Linked DNA regions of Homo sapiens: region 2 is linked to region 1. Evidence: promoter capture Hi-C in 16 types of primary human blood cells and fetal thymus (Javierre and others, 2016). All regions are on one chromosome and are shown on one strand. Each heading gives the region's core, a stretch centred on a gene start or on the middle of the fragment in contact. The rest is flanking DNA. Distances are from core to core; before and after follow the strand shown.

Region 1 (2,838 bases), core at 339-2,838:
AATATCCCCGCACTCTGGCCTGGGCAATGGAGTGAGACCCTGTCTCAAAAAAAAAAATTAAGATTACCATTTTACAATTAAGCAAATAATTCCATGATGAAGCCAGGCCCAGACTACAGGCTGCAGCCCTTATAAAAAAACAGTGGGTAAGTAAAAGTTGATAAACAGCAACAAGGAAATGCACACTTGTGTTAATCAAATATTTAATTTCACACATGCTCTAATGCTTTACTTCCCTTACAATTCTAAGTAGCAGTCTAATGAGATCACATAGGCCTAACAACATTTATTCAACATTCTTCTGACAGAAGCTACAGGCATTTGCTCCAATTTATTCTACCTTTCTTTCTAGGGAAATTGAATAACAAGCAGAATGGAATAAGATTCTAATCCAGAATTCTGGAGACAACGCCAAGGAGACTGCCCTTCAGGTGACTCTAATCTGCAACCAGATTGAAGAACCAGATGACTTTCACAGGATCCATTCAGTTCAAACCAGAAGTCCTACTATTTTGAATAGAAAAGCTGTTAGGCTAATAGCGCAGGAGGTTTATACGGTTTATTCCTTCCTCCCTCAGACCTGTGCATGTCTGCAGAGATGAAGGGAAGGACGAACTGAGTAGGTTGCTGAAAAACGTTTAATTCAAGGGACAAGGAAGGTTACGGAAGAGGAAGAGACATTACGAGAGTTAAGGACAGTGGCTACGTCTACCTCAGCCGGATGGTTCTTAGAAATGGAGACTCTGAGGCCTAACCCCAGGTCTAAAAAAACAGATTCTGCATTTTAACGTCCCCAGACGATTTGTATGCACCGGTCTGCATCCCTAGTTCTCAATGAAACCTAAGAATCATCTGGAGAGTTTGTTAATAACTAGACACCTGGGTCCTACCCCTCAGAGATTCTGATTTACCGGGCTCTCGGTGGAGCTATATGTTTAACAAGCACTGCAAGTTATCCCGGTACAACTGCTCCAAGGTCTACGGTCTGAGAAGTACGGACCGGGAAGGCCTCTGCAAGGAGGTTCTCATTCATCAATTCACCCACTCATCCAGCCAGGACAAGGGCCTTCTTAGGCTATTCTATCTAAAGCGGCCCCCGTTAAACCGCACTCCTGCTTTTCCTCTGTAACACCCACCCCAGCTGCAAGTTCTCCGTACGCTTACCGTCTGTCTCCCCACCCACTAGAACGTGAACTCCAACACAGCAGAGACCTTCTGTGCTTTTCTTACCCAGGTGATCTCGGAGGACAAAATCCAATCTGAAGCCCACCCACCCCTCCCGCGCATGTCAACACCACTCAACAAACCCCTTGTACCTCTAGCTGTAATAAGTAACAAGCAGTATCCTACAGGGCGCCTCGGTGCCCAGGAGCGGATGCAAAGGCGCTGGGCGGGCACAAGGCAGCGCCAAGGACACTCAGGGACGGAGGAACCGACAGGGGACTTGACGCTCCGCCACTCCGACCAGCCGCCCCTTGTCCCCGCCGTCCTCGTCCGCCACTGAGATATCCCCCACGGTCTACCCACCCGTCGGCTCCCACCTGCGACCCAAGGACCCAAGTCTTCCAAGAGCTCAGCCGTTAGAATTCAAAGGTTCTTCTTTTTAAATAGGAGTTAAACCCTCTAGCTAGAAAGCCGATTGGCCTGCGCTCGAGCGAGGCTGCCTTGTGATTGGTTGACAACAAACCCGACGCCTTGAGTCGCGTTTAAGGGCGCACACCGCGCGCAGGCGCACTTGCTCCCTAAGAACCCGGAAGTGGTGGAGCCAACGGCCAGCCAGACCTGTGGCAGTCCCAGCCCCAGGGTGCTCTCCGCGGTCGGCCATTTATCGGTGAAGCAACAGCCCCTTGACGTCAAGCTTGACGCATTGGAGATAAAGTCCAAGGAGGTGAACTAACCTTTGAACGTGCCAGTAAGTAAGATGGCGAGAAAAGCAAGAGAGAGTGGGACCGATCGATAGCGCAGCGGTCGGCTTGGCGCCCTTTCAGCGTGCGCAGTGAACGTGCGCTCGGAGCGGTAGATTGGGCAGGATTCGCGCCTCCATTTTTCCAGGAGAGAGCGGGATACCAAGAGAACCGGACCAGCTGGTACTGGGACACGGGGAGAGTAGCTGGTGCGGTCGGCTGGGGCATTTAGAGAAAACCACAGAAACGACTGGGGCGAGACTGGAAGAGTCGAGAGTTAGCAAGGTGGCATGCGCCTCTACTTTGCGTTTCCTAAGTTGCCCGGCTTGGCCTGCACCCCTTCCTCTTCTCGAAGGGCCTCGCTTCCATTCCCACCCAGTCCTTAGTTCGCCTCTGCATCCAGATGGTCGCGGCGCATATAGTGAGGGGGCATCTGTGTTCTAGCCTTTCCAACTGCGATGTATCCGGTCCTGGATCGGGTTCTTGTCCTCGTGTGCTCACCTGCAAATTGGGGATAATTAGGCTTCTGTTTACCTGGCGAGTGAACGTTCTGTGGGAGTTGAGAAGTTAGGGGTGGGCCACTTAAAATATATATATATATACACACACACACACATATACATATATATACACACACATATGTGTGTGTGTGTGTGTGTATGTACACCCGGGATGTGCTCAGCAGAAGTGAAGAGACCGGATAGAACAGTGGTGTAGGGGAACCAAAAATGGCTTCCCTCCATCCTTCCAGGTACCTTATTAGGACTAAGAGTTAAATTCACATAAGACGAATTAACAGATTACTGCAGGGTAAACAGGATGTGCATGTAAAGCATTGAGCTAGCATACGGAAATTATTCGAGTCATATTAACCCAACGTTAACAGTAGAATCTCTCATCAACTTTTCTTTGCCAGACTACCCACTTGTGATTT
Region 2 (2,700 bases), core at 68-2,567, about 13 Mb before region 1:
GCTCACTGCAGCCTCGAACACCTGGGCTCAAGAGATCCTCTTGCCTCAGCTTCCCAAGGTGTGGGGATTACAGACTCGTATTTTTTATTTATCTAACTTTAAGCACGGCCTCTACCTCCCCCAGTCGTGACAAACAACGTTTCCCTCTAGACTTCCAAATAGCTCCAGGAGGACAAAACCCCCCTTTTTCAACCCGAAGCTTAAGGATATTGAGGTTGCACCACTCAAAACAGAGCAGGAATACATAAATATCTAAAGAGCTGGTGTTATCTCAGTGATATCCCTTTTTTTTTTTTTTTTTTTTTTTAGCTTCGGCGGTGACACCTACTCTCCTGGTCTTCTCCCTACCTCGCTAGTCACTCCTCCCAGTCTCCTTTCCTGCGCTTAAATTTCAGAGTACCCCAGGCGTTGGCCTGGGTCTTCCGCTCTCCACTTAAACTTACTCCTTTGAGGTTTTCAATCTGGTTCTACAGCTTTAAATAGCATCTCCATTGATAAACTCACAAAATAAGGCACTTTCAAGTCAGTGGAGGAAATGATAGTATTGGGACAAAGGACTTTCCATACACGGGAGAAAAAAAATCGTTCGTCGCTGTGGGAGGGCTGCCGGGTCTCGTCCACGCTCCCTTTTGAGCACCTACAGTGAGCGTAGGATTGCCACGGATAGCCCAATCCACAAGTGAGTCAAGCTGCCAGGGCTCCAAGAAAGACCCATGGAGGGAGAGGGGAACGTCCGGGGAGGCGAAGGCTGCGAGTGAGACCCGGAGAGGCTGATGTCGGCGGGTCTGCGCGCTCGCAACGCGACCTCCGCCCGGTCAGCAAGACCTCGGCGCGCGATCCTCAGATTCTGCGAAACAAGACAAGCGACTGGGTCCGAGACCGCGGTCCCCATCAAAACGAGCATCAACCAATCGCTGGGAGAAATCCGCAGCCTCGTTTTAAGCCACCAAGCAGAGACCGCGGCGACCTATTATGATAACCTCGAGAACCAATGAAAAACGGGGATTCGCTCAGCCCGCCTCCCGAGCTTCAACCCCGAAGAGATCGCGCACAGTTTTATAAAAGGTACAAATTAGAAAGCAGTTCTGCGGCTGGATTAGAGACATTGTGTTTTCAAAGACGGTGGGGAGGGCTAGAGAAAAATCCTAGAAGCTAGCAAGACCGCACTACACCGAAACGTCGCGGGCAACGGACTCGCCAGTCACCATCTAGCCCAGGGACGACGCGGGACGGACGTGCCGCTGCGCGCTGACATCACGCTCCAGGCCCCGCCCCACCGGCCGCCCATATAGCGAAAGCCTGGCGCGCGCGCGCGCCATTGTGTGGCTGGACTCGGCCGCCCCTGTGGTGTGAGGCGCGTGTTCGGGCTCTTGCCGTCCCCGCACCCGCACCGCGGTTACTGGCTTGCGGTCCGCCGTTCGACAACCAGCCCTTGGGTCCCCGCCCGCCACGGACATGCCGCGCGTCTACATAGGACGCCTGAGCTACAACGTCCGGGAGAAGGACATCCAGCGCTTTTTCAGTGGCTATGGCCGCCTCCTCGAAGTAGACCTCAAAAATGGGTGAGTCGGGCCTGGGCGCCCGCGCCCAGCGTCCCAGGCCTGGTGGCGGCGGGAACTCTCCAAGGAAAGAAGCGGCCAAGGCCGCGGCGCCGCGTGGCAGGGCCTCAAAGATGGCGACGGCGCGGCGTCGCGGGGGCGCGCGGTGGGGTACGGGCGCGCGCACGTGCGCGTCCTGGCTAACGACTCCCCCGCGGTTGTCCGGCCCTCGCACCGCCCCTAGGTACGGCTTCGTGGAGTTCGAGGACTCCCGCGACGCCGACGACGCCGTTTACGAGCTGAACGGCAAGGAGCTCTGCGGCGAGCGCGTGATCGTAGAGCACGCCCGGGGCCCGCGTCGCGATCGCGACGGCTACAGCTACGGAAGCCGCAGTGAGTCCCACCCCCGCGCGCTCCGCGCCCTTGGGGACCCTGGGGGCGGGGGTGGGTGGGGTGGGGCCTCCCAGCCCGGGCAGGCGCGAGGGCCGGGGGTCGTTTGACTTGGGTGTCCCCGAGCCCCGCTGCCTTCACGTCTGCCCGGGGCAGCCATGGGACGCCGGAGCGCGGGGATTGGGTTTGGGTGTTTGGTTTTGTTTATTTGCCAAGTTGGGAGGTGGGTGGCTTCTTCTGGCCCCTTGTCAGCACTGTCACGGGTTCTTCCCACAGAGGAAGTAAGGGGTGGCTGTATTTGTTGTATTCTCCTTACTTACCTATCAGTGCATTAGTTAGAGGTTCGGGGGCAGGCTCGGGTGGAGGTGGGGTAGGGGGCGCGGGGGACGGGGAAGGGGAGGAGCATAAAGTATAGGTCTTAAAGCTATGGAACTTGATGGGGGCCAAAGAATGTACTATTTTTAAGTAATGTGGTATTGTACCACAAAGTAGATCTAAATAAGCTTTATGCTGTATTTGAACTAATTGGGGCATGTTATTGGGAGGAGGTTGGGGGGATTTTTGGTTATGTTAAATGTTTGATGTTTAAATTGTTGCATGTTGAATTCAAACTTTTTAACAAGTCCTTGATGTTTCAATTTGAAAGTGACCAATGGGGCTGAGGCTGTGTCCACTGAGGCTAAGATGACTGCCTTTCCTGATTGGCCTTGGCTTTTCCATACATTGTGTGACCCTTGCCCTATGACCCTTTGGCTGACCTTACCGGAAGCCA

What was found. Contacts are between HindIII fragments. The CHiCAGO score rates a contact against its expected background, and 5 or more counts as called.
Region 2: a contact is called between the fragment with the promoter of SRSF6 here and the fragment with the promoter of AURKA in region 1, in 1 of 17 cell types (fetal thymus). The highest score is 8.0, in fetal thymus.

The regions. Positions count from the first base shown.
Region 1 is chr20:56,390,627-56,393,464 of GRCh38, forward strand. It overlaps AURKA (aurora kinase A), which reads right to left and starts at 1,589. Exons shown (of 9, transcript NM_198437.3): 1 at 1,542-1,589. It overlaps CSTF1 (cleavage stimulation factor subunit 1), which reads left to right and starts at 2,019. Exons shown (of 6, transcript NM_001324.3): 1 at 2,019-2,087. RefSeq lists an enhancer at 1,735-1,974. The HindIII fragment of the contact is 5,454 bases long and covers 1-1,856 here.
Region 2 is chr20:43,456,579-43,459,278 of GRCh38, forward strand. SRSF6 (serine and arginine rich splicing factor 6) reads left to right here and starts at 1,318. Exons shown (of 6, transcript NM_006275.6): 1 at 1,318-1,562; 2 at 1,783-1,931. The coding sequence starts at 1,456. RefSeq lists enhancers at 655-974, 1,035-1,194, 1,116-2,063, 1,495-1,594 and silencers at 1,735-1,834, 1,845-2,104. The HindIII fragment of the contact is 2,232 bases long and covers 198-2,429 here.